Regions from separate parts of the Homo sapiens genome. Here regions 2, 3 and 4 are each linked to region 1. The links are contacts of gene promoters, found by promoter capture Hi-C in human tissues and cell types (Jung and others, 2019). All regions are on one chromosome and are shown on one strand. Each heading gives the region's core, a stretch centred on a gene start or on the middle of the fragment in contact. The rest is flanking DNA. Distances are from core to core; before and after follow the strand shown.

Region 1 (2,591 bases), core at 50-2,549:
CTTCCTTTCCCTTCCCTTCCCTTCCCTTTCTTCCCTTCTTCTCCTTCTTTCCTTCTCAAATATTTAGGTTAAATATGATTTAGGAGCATAATTCTATATATTTAAAAACATATTAAATTTTCCAAATATTGGTGTGACTAGAATATTAATTTCTATCAAATGAGGAAAGTGCTACAGAGAAAAATTATATCTCTAGTGTCATTCAAAGGAGAGTAATCTTGGAGGCTTAAATCTTATTTTTAACTGGAATGCATTCTTATTAAATAGTAGCAATTATAATATAAATGAAATTTTGTATTTGTTTTTCTTTTTTTAGTATTGCATCAGGACTCCCTTCACCTATCCTCATCCTTCAATTTTGTGACATAAGTCCTGTACTTACAAACCATCTTGAGTCTTTTTTCCCACGTTATGCTCAAGCTGTTTTTATGTAGCTTGTCACCAATACTTATATTCATTTGCTGACGTTTGAAAAAAAATGAGTGATGCATGTGTTTTAAAGGCATTATAGTATTGATTGTGCTCTGCAAACACAGAAATTTTTGGATAAATATTGAAAAGTGATTGACTTTAAAGTCAGCTTTTTAAAAGCTATAGATACCATGATTATCTGTAGCTTTTCTTTTCTTAAAAACCATTAAGTTATTTCATGAAACAATGTAATTGAAAACATGTGATGAACATTCCTAAATATACATATGATTTACCATAAACATTTTCTTTCCTTAAGTTGAAAAAAATTACATTTAGTATTAATGTAAAGCAATATTGAAAATAAATGTAAAATCATATTAATGTGGAAAGATGATTATATAGCCTATTTCAAGGTCTTTCACCAACATAGTTTGTTATGTTTATTTTTTTAATTAAATATATTTTTTTAATAGAGACGGGGTCTCACTATGGTGCTCCTGGGCACAACTGATCCTCCTGCCTTGGCCTCCCAAAGTGTTGGAGTTACAGGCGTGGGCCATTGCGCCCAGCCTGTATTATTAAAATGAAATGATTTTTGAAATGCAGTACATAAAGCATTACTTTTGACAATAATCATGAAGTTAATTAAATGCTGCTTACCTCCTGTCCATCAAAAGTCTGTGTGAGAGATGAGCATTTTTCAGCACTTCCACTTCTGTCGAAGGGATATCTTTGAGTTGCTTCTGTTAAAATAGCTCTTTCTGGAAACAGTGTATTTAAGAAATGTTGTATTTTGTTTTAGACTCTTTTGTTGCTTTAAAAAGTAGTTTCCAGTGTAACGCTTGGCGTCGGAGTTGGTGCTGGGCTGACTTTAATTGCTGCTTTGTCTCTTTCAGGAAGTGCTCTCTGAAATAGGCTTTTTCACCTTATGACTTTACCCTGGATGTGGTTTTTCTCTTTCACAAATGATTTGTTTATGAAGTCACACTTAGCATAAGCTCCCCTTGAAATGATGGCATATATTTAAGATAATTATATACAAAGGATAAAGTTTCTTCAGTTTGTGTACTTTGATGCTTGAAGTCTGCATCATCTATGGAAAGAGAAGATTTGATATTGAGTAAAAGGGGGTTTAAAGTCTAGCTTCTTTGCTTTATAAGCTATGTGACTTTGTCTAGTTACCTACCCACTCTGACTAACCCTTTGTTCCTACTTCATTTCTGTACAGTTGAAATAGAGATAATACTATATCCAGTAGGATTGTAGGGGCCCTAAACCAGAAAGATCCCAAGTGCTTAATAGTACCTGGCACTTAGTAGGTACTCCTAAATGGAGTCTCACTTTTTACTACCAAGTTATTAAAAATCATAGAATATCCACATTTCCACTTTTTACTATTTAAACATTTCTAAATGCTTAAAAGTAGGATCCTTGATTAATTGCTTCTGCTTTGCCACATACATTTATCCACTTTAGTTTGCTGTATTTTGTAAGTCTGCTTTTCTAGTGCGTGGAAGTCTAGAAATAATTTCTTTTGCATAAAAATTTCTGCAAATCTTAGCAGAAAGGACTCTGAAGTCTTTAGTGGACTGATTTACATATTAAGAGTGTTTTCACCTAAGAAGGGAAATGAAACCAGCAGAAAGGGAAGTGAGCAACGAATCGCTGCCTGCCTTGTTAGGTTAATTTTGTTTTACTTTCTCATTTCTTAAAAAAAATTATCTCTCATTTGCTTATCCTAAAATTTTAATTATCTTTATGTTTGGTTATGCATGGTTTGTCAACTTTTTAAAGGGTTCATGAACTTAAATGTATTTGTTTTTTTGAATTTTAGACAGTTTGGGGTCCATCCTTTTTTTTTTTTTTCTCAGACAAAACCATAGTAAATCTGTGGCTTAGAAAAGTTACTTAAATCCTTGCCTTTGGTGATAAAATACTTTTGATTGTTACAACCTGCCAGAATGATGGGTTTTAGAAGTGTTGGAGACAACCATAGCAACTATTTCTTGTGTGGATGAAGAAATTGAAGGCCAGTTACTTGCTTAAGAACTCAAGGTAAAGCCAGGTCCAGTTTCTCCCGCTGTAATAACTTCTTATGAGGTAATTATATTGATCTGTCCACTAGATAGGACTTCTTATGGCTGAATCACATTCATCAGTTTTTTATATGTGATGTT
Region 2 (2,591 bases), core at 25-2,524, 300 kb before region 1:
GGCCCCAGGGACACGTCCTGTGGGGCTAAAAGAGCTTGCCAGTGGTTCCCATACAGCTCCATTGTTGCTGGGCACCTTGGCTTAGGAAGATTTCCAGGAACGTGCCCACTGTGTCCACCCAATGTCATGACACAGAAGATGGGACGCCATGGCACAATTCAGACATGTTCTAAGGTATGTGGCCCCAGGACTACTTGGCGGTATGTAAGATTAGTCATTGCACAAACTGAGAATGCCCCCAAACTGCATTGCTCATGTACAAAAGAAACCTCACAGAAGCTTTTCCAATCCTAAAAATTCCTGTGACATTCCCAGATGTTGTGGAACTAGAAGAAACTTTTCTAAACTCTCAATAATAAAATACAAATTTGGACTAATCATGCCAAGGGAAACACTGATCTGTTCTTGCAATGAAGAATGATAATACAAAATCATGATCATATGAAGAGGCAATAAAAGAATATGAAGCCCTAAAACTATAGGGAAGTAGTATGGAGGTGTATCTAGAGGTTCATTGATAAAAATGTGTTGTTTCCCTGGATTTCTGGTGTTTATGGCTTGTGTTAGCTTTTTAAAATTTCTTTCTTTTTAAATTCTAAATAAATGTTCACCTCCGTGCCTTATTTTGTTTTCAAATGTTGAATTATTTTTCTTAAAGAAAGCCCCTAAAATTCTGTAAGCTTTGTCCCTCACAAAACCTGACTCTGCCCTGATAGGGTCGTGTGTCCACACGAATGCTGACGAGGATGGCAGCATGGTTAGGAAAGCCGAGCTGTGCAGTCATGTGAGGCTGCTGCTGGACTCAACTGAGTCAATGCATGGAAAAGGCAAAGCCTGGCAAACTGTAAACACATATTATAATAAATAGAGCTATTCATATTATTAAATATGTTGCTTGCATGATAGGTTTTAAAAAAAAAAAAAAGAAAAAAAAACTTTCCTTGACCTCCAGAAACATACAAAATAAAACAGGCAATAATGACAGGGACATGCACAAAGGAAGACAAATAATGACCCAATATAGAGAAAACTGCATCCAGACACTGAAATTCAGGGGCTGAACCCAAAGGAAACAGACAGCTGCTTATACCGTAGATGGGACTGAGTATTGCTGTGGTGTGTGCCAGGGAAGACGAAGAATAACCACAGCTGGGGGTGGGCGATAGAGAAAAGCACTTCTGACCCCCTCCCATTAGGGCAGCTCCATGACAGCAGCAGGGTCTTGGATTGTGAAGAAGAGAGCAGGCAGGCAGGACACCCCATGGGACACTGCTCACAGAGGGTTATGTGGCATGATCAGAGTGGGTGGGGAGAAAGAGCTCCTCATCTCAAGGGACAACATGGACACAGGTGAGCCACTGATACCGAGGCCCCGCCAGTCCCCATCTACTGAGCATGGCAGCGGGCAGCATGGCGCGCCTCTAGCAATCACACTTCCCTACACCTCCCATGGGGGCCAGAAAGCAGGACCCCAAAAGGCCCCACCATGATCCCCCCACCCTTCAATCTCTTGGAACTCCCTCCCTCCCACAGCATTTGCTGCTTAGGGTCTGGCGGCCCAACATCATGCAAATTGAAATTCCAGATCAAAAGGCAATCAGAAGCAGGAAATGTTCTTAGTGCCAGGAAAATGAGATTCCTCTGGATCCAGCAGACCTGCACAATGTTCGCCCACAAACTGAGTTCAGTTCTGGCCAAACATGTACAAAACCTCGAAAACCATGGGAAGAGCTAAGCTCCAAAGAGCACAGTAATTTCACTGCTCTTGCCTCGGATGTGATAGCTTCAAATGAACTTTCCAGTCATTTCTTGCCCTTGTGTCTCTGGTGATTAAATGTTAAGAAGAGCTGAAATCCCAAATGCCACTTCTTGAAATAGCAAACTAAATGGCAACTCTTGGAGCTATTTTAAGAAATGAGAAATTCGTCATTTCTGCTTATAAAGAATTTAGGACTTCCTTGATTTATCTGCATGGCTATAAAAGCTACTTGATAGGCTGAGATAAAGTTGGTCCACTTTCAAAGCGCTTCTCAATGTTGCCAACAGGACACCAGTACTGTTGCTGGGGATAGGAAAAAGGAGATGGCAGCTTGCAACAAAAAGGGGCTTCTGAAGCCACGTGCTCACAAGTGTGGGACACACAAGCCTTCCTGCACTCCTATCATGCACGTGACTCTCGCTACGTAGCCCCACCAGGAATTTCTTGAAGTTGTCAAGTTTGCAGGAAGGATCCTCATTTTCCTATAAGTAGGGTGGGCACAGGAAAATAACAGCGGCCTCCCTTCCTTGTGTACACATGTGATTAGCAGTATGAGTTCCCTCTCTCCACAGGTATTTACTGAGCTGGTTCACATGCACTGTGCCAGAGACATCAAGATAAAAAGAACACGGCCCTGCCCCAGGGAGCTGGCAGTCAGAGGGAAGGCACATGTGTGAACAATCAGCAGAATGAATGACAGCAGCAGGGACCAGGAGTGGCATCTGGCCCACTAGAAGGAACCCAACCTTTGCCCAGCTAGATTATAAGCTCCATGAGGGCAAGACAGCCCTATTGTATTTGCTGCTTTCTCCAGCACCTAGAACAGCACCCA
Region 3 (2,591 bases), core at 42-2,541, 280 kb after region 1:
TTTCCATGAAAGAGATACATTTTACATCTTCAACCATGTTGACATCAAAATATACTATCATGTTGTTGAAACTGGGTCCATGGGAGCAAGATTAGTGGCTGCTAAACTTGAACCGAAAAGGTAATTATATTAATGATAAAAAGTAAACAAGTATAAGTGAAATTTAGACCCAAAGAATAAGTATTTGGGGCTCAATTACTCCTTAATATTCTGACATTTCAGGATTGATTTCACTAAAACTCCCTTTGGCATGATTTGTTATTGTTATGGGTTGTCCAGAAAACCATACCAATAGTTATTTTCCTGTCATGATAAGCGGTCAAGCCAAGGTGCCTTAGTGTTTTGTTTTTCAGTCAGGAGGTTTTGACAGCTTTTCCACGTGTCAGTGGGGAGGGAGAAGTTGAGTGGTTGGGACAGTGGTCCCCTTCGTGGTGGAAAGAACACTGCCTCAGATAATGTGTGGCTTTCCTCTGGTCAGAGGCCCAAATGAGTGGACAAGTACTGTGATTTCTCAAGCCCCTATGCAGTGTTAGATGCCACTATGAAATACGAGCCATTGAAAGAGATCTCTTCAACTTATTATTTTTTATCACGAACGTACATATCAGTTATTTATGAGATTTTTTTTTTAAATATTTCATTTTTTTTCACGACTTTTTCTGCCATTGAATTAGCCTTTTTCTCATGCACTGGTGGTCAAGAAATACATGCCATAATAAGATGGCAGTTAAACTTCATCAGTATTTTTTTTTTTTAAATAAGATTATTTAGCCAGGCACAGTGGCTCGCACCTGTAATCTGAACACTTTGGGAAGGCCAAGGCAGGAGGATCACTTGAGGCCAGGAGTTCAAGACCAGCCTAGGCAACATAATGAGACCCTGTCTCTACAGAAAATGAATTCGCTGGGCATGGTGGCATGTGCCTGTAGGAAGCTGAAGTGAGAGGATCACTTGAGCCCAGGAGTTCAAGACCAGCCTGGGCAACATAGTGAGACCCTGTCTCTACAGAAAATTTAAAAATTAACTGGGCACTGTGGCCCGTGCCTGTAGGAGGCTGAAGTGGGAGGATCACTTGAACCCAGGAGTTTGAAGCTGCAGTGAGCCAAGATCACACTACTGCACACCAGCCTGGGTGACAAAGCAAGACCTTGTCTCAAAAACAAAACAAAAAACAAAAAAGGCCAGGCATGGTGGCTCATGTTGTAATCCCAGCACTTTGAGAGGCTGAGGCAGTAGGATTGCTTGAGCCCAGGAGTTCAAGACCAGCCTGGGCAACATAGCAAGACCTTGTTTCTACAAAAAATGAAAAATTAGCTGGGCGTGGGGTGTGGTGGCACACACCTGTAGTCCCATCTACTTGGGAGACTGAGGTGGGAGGATCACTTGAGCCCAGGAGTTTGAGGCTGCATTGAACTGTGATGGCACCACCGCACTCAGGCCTGGGTAAGAGAGCAAGACCCTGTCCCAAAAAAAAAAAAGAAAAAAAAAAAGATTATTTAAATGCTCTTCAAGTATAGTGTTTTCAAAAGTATGTTTATAATTTTGTACACATATGATGTAAATATTTATGCTATTAAGTGTGACATGAATAATTTCACCTTTGTCAGCAGCATTTTAAAATACGTACAAAATCTGTAACCTTTACCTCATTTTTAAAAAGTTGTACTTTATCAGCATCTTGCCAAAATGTTTCTTCCCACAGCTTCAAACATACCCATATAGATAAACCAGACTGCTCAGGGCCCCCCATGGACATAAGTAACAAGGCTTCTGGGGAGATAAAAATTGCCTATACTTACTCTGTTAGCTTCGAGGTGAGTCTGTTGTTATCTTTAGTATAACTCTGAAATTGATTTTAAATTTGTACTACTTAAACTAATTAAAATGTTACTGATTATGCTTGTCAAATAAAGAAGCTATTAATGAGCTGATTTTTAGGATAGTTTGTCGGTGTACCAAGCAACATAATCACTCTTGTAACTGAGTCTTAGTTTAAATGAGAATATAGAGGAAGTTGAAGACTTGAGCCTGATTTAGTGTTAAGCATAAGAGATACATATAAGACAAAAGTAGAAAACAGGCCTAGAGGACGGGATGGAAATGCCAGAGATATATTCAGAAACCATTTGGGAAATCAACACCGTACTTTAAAGGATTTAAGTGTGAACTTTAAATGGAGAGCTTCCAATTGGTAGATTGTCTTAGAAAATTGAAGGGAGTGTTTTCATTAACGAAGTTTCTTAAAATGCAAATTCATTGTTATGAGAATCTTAGTATTCTACCTTTATTTTTTCACCATTTTTAAAATCAAGATTTAATTATGAACTTTAAATGAAGAGTTTCCGATTGGGAGATTGTCTTAGAAAATTGAAGGGAGTATTTTTATTAGCGAAGTTTCTTAAAATGCAAGTTTATCATTAAAATGCAAGAATCTTAGGCAGTGTTCCAACTCTATTTTTTAAAACTTTTGGCAATCCAATATAGTTGTGATGTTTAATATCCCCGTATAATGTTTCATTTTGCAAACCTGGTGCAGTAAATAGTATATATTTCTAGATATTAAGAGCTCAGTGTGCCTGGAATGACTGGTC
Region 4 (2,591 bases), core at 57-2,556, 260 kb after region 1:
CACCATATAAGGTTTGTATTTAGTGTTACATAATAATTATTTACTTACAGCTTTTGTTTTTGTTATTTAAGAAAAGCCTGAGATAACTCAGCTATCATTGCTAAGGAGGAGTTCATTTCTCTTTTTCATCTAGGAATAGGTTCTTAAAATCAAAGTTAGAAGGATCCTTCTCCTTCTCACAGTGTGTCATTGATAAGTCTGTCTTAATGAACATTCACGCAACTAATGTTAGGAATGTTAAGACGGTGGCTTAAAGGGCAGGGCTCAGATGCTCTGCCTCCTTTACAGAGGGTCCTGAAACCCGGGTCCTGGAACCCAGCTTCCAGTCATGAGAGGTTGTCTCAGCTGCTCTGTGTCTCTTTCCCCCTGTTTTCCAGCAGTATCTAGAGACACTCTCCGTTAGCACGTACAATGCTGCCTGGGCTCCCGCACTGGGATTTTTGGAAGCTAATCTTTCTTTTTTTTTTCCAGACAGAGTCTTGCTCTGTCGCCCAGGCTGCAGTGTAGTGGTGAGATCTCAGCTCACTGCAACCTCTGCCTCCCGGGTTCAAGCAATTCTCGTGCCTCAGCTTCCCGAGTAGCTGGGACTATAGGTGCATGGCACCATGCCCAGCCAACTTTTTGTATTTTTAGTAGAGATGGGGTTCCAACATATTGGTCAGGCTGGTCTCAAACTCCTGAACTCAAGTGATTTGCCCGCCTCGGCCTCCCAAAGTGTTGAGATTACAGATTTGAGCCAGTATGCCTAGCCTAACCTTTCTATTTTGATGTATTTGGAACATCTTTGGTACATTTTTCGAACACCAGTTAAACCAAACTAAGCACAATATAAGGTATTCTTTTCAACATATGTACTTCATCATCTCTCAGAATTCTTTTGCCTTTAAATCTGTTATCTTTTAAGCCTATTATCCTTCCACATTGCATAATCCCTGTTTGTTTTGTATCTGTTCTCCTACTGTACAAAGAACAATGGTCTTTTGCTTTTAGAAACATTAAAGTAGTTTATTATAATAATGTATCACCATATAAAAAAATTAAATGATGCAAAAGAATAAATAATAATAAATGTGCAGTTCCACTTCACAGTTTGTTATTAAAATTTCCTGAAAATTTTCATACACCTATAAGCTTACATTAAATAGATTAGATTTACTTATTTGTTTTAACATACTATATGCCACACTTTGCATTTTTCCTTTAACTCTCTACCATGGGCATCTGTCCACATGAGAATGTGTGTTCTGATGGCTCTAACTTGACTCCAGGTGTTATTCCCCAGCCCGACAGCTTCCTCTCCTGGCTTCGCGTCTCTGCTATGTCTTAGACCTCATCCATAGCCACCTTCCCTGCTTTCTCACGAGGCACCCCCATCTCCCTCGACATTTTATTACATGGAGCACAACATTTATTATCTGTCCAGCAAATCCCGAAGCCTAGATTCATCTCACCAACCGTCTTACTCCCTCCAGCACCTGCACCTACACTGTGAAGCCCTGGGGGAAAAGAAACATCACTGTGCAAATTTAATCCACTACAAGTTGATTGGTTTTGACTGTAAATATATCCTCTTCAAATATTCTTTTTTTTTCTTTTCTTTTTTTAAGAGATGGAGCCTTGCTCTGTCACCCAGGCTGGAGTGACGTGGCACAATCATAGGTTACTGCAGCCTCAGACTCCTAGTCTCAAGTGATCCTCCTGTCTCACTCCCCTGAGTGGCTAGGACTACAGATGCATACCACCACATCCAGCCAATTTTTAAATTTTTTATAGAGACAGGGTCTCACTCTGTTGCCCAGGCTTGTCCTGAACTTCTGGCTTCAAGCAATCCTTCTGCCTCAGCCTTCCAAAGGGTTGGGATTATAGACATAGACGTGAGCCGCCGTCTGACGCCTTTCAAATACTTTTTTTTTCTTTTTCGAGACAGAGTGTCACTCTATTGCTCAGGCTGGAGTGCAGTGGCAAGATCTCAGCTCACTGTAACCTCCGCCTCCTGGGTTCAAGTGATTCTCCTGCCTCAGCCTCCCAAGTAGCTGGAATTACAGGCGTGTGTCACTATGCCCAGCTAATTTTTGTATTTTTCGTAGAGATGGGGTTTTGCCAAGTTGGCCAAGCTAGTCTCAAACTCTTGACCTCAGGTGATCTGCCTGTCTCGACCTCACAAAGTGCTGAGATTACAGGCATGAGCCACCATGCCCGGCCCCTTTCAAATATTCTAATCTGAAATTGTCTACCCTAAAATTGCCAGTAACTTTTAAAGTTTCCTAAACACAGTAGATTCAAAGGCCTAATGGGATGAAGTCATTGAGGAGGAAGGAACTCAAAGTGTATGGACATGGGTGCCATTGAGCAGGGCAGGCATGTAACTTGCGAAACACCTCTTCCCTCTTGGGGTATTTGGAAGATTACTTTGAATGGTATTGCATTCTTCTTATAGCAGATGACTGTTTTCAGGCATGCTTTTTAAATTTTACAATCTTAAATATTCCAGCAGCCTCTCAGCCCCATCTCTCTACTTATGTCTTGCCCTTGAGAAATGATGGGTGGGAAGAATATCAGTAATGCCCTTAGTGAACTGGGAAGACAGCAGG

What was found. Contacts are between HindIII fragments. The study calls those that stand out against the background at their distance.
Region 2: a fragment that was not itself captured here is called in contact with the fragment with the promoter of GPR18 in region 1 in 2 of the 25 tissues and cell types used here (H1 embryonic stem cells and dorsolateral prefrontal cortex).
Region 3: a fragment that was not itself captured here is called in contact with the fragment with the promoter of GPR18 in region 1 in 2 of the 25 tissues and cell types used here (lymphoblastoid cells and spleen).
Region 4: a contact is called between a fragment that was not itself captured here and the fragment with the promoter of GPR18 in region 1, in 3 of the 25 tissues and cell types used here (IMR-90 fibroblasts, mesenchymal stem cells and spleen).

Annotation. Positions count from the first base shown.
Region 1 is chr13:99,257,080-99,259,670 of GRCh38, forward strand. GPR18 (G protein-coupled receptor 18) reads right to left here and starts at 1,300. Exons shown (of 2, transcript NM_001098200.2): 1 at 1,075-1,300. All of the region lies in intron 4 of UBAC2 (UBA domain containing 2), which reads left to right. It overlaps LOC124903198 (a long non-coding RNA gene), which reads right to left. Exons shown (of 3, transcript XR_007063846.1): 3 at 1,360-1,507. The HindIII fragment of the contact is 6,968 bases long and covers 1,287-2,591 here.
Region 2 is chr13:98,961,727-98,964,317 of GRCh38, forward strand. The region is part of intron 1 of DOCK9 (dedicator of cytokinesis 9); the gene reads right to left. Among named protein-coding and RNA genes, the nearest start is that of DOCK9, 15 kb to the right of the region's middle. The HindIII fragment of the contact is 4,064 bases long and covers 1-2,591 here.
Region 3 is chr13:99,537,744-99,540,334 of GRCh38, forward strand. It overlaps TM9SF2 (transmembrane 9 superfamily member 2), which reads left to right. Exons shown (of 17, transcript NM_004800.3): 6 at 1-120; 7 at 1,703-1,814. Among named protein-coding and RNA genes, the nearest start is that of TM9SF2, 38 kb to the left of the region's middle. The HindIII fragment of the contact is 5,225 bases long and covers 1-2,591 here.
Region 4 is chr13:99,520,119-99,522,709 of GRCh38, forward strand. It overlaps TM9SF2 (transmembrane 9 superfamily member 2), which reads left to right. Exons shown (of 17, transcript NM_004800.3): 3 at 1-11. Among named protein-coding and RNA genes, the nearest start is that of TM9SF2, 20 kb to the left of the region's middle. The HindIII fragment of the contact is 4,991 bases long and covers 1-2,591 here.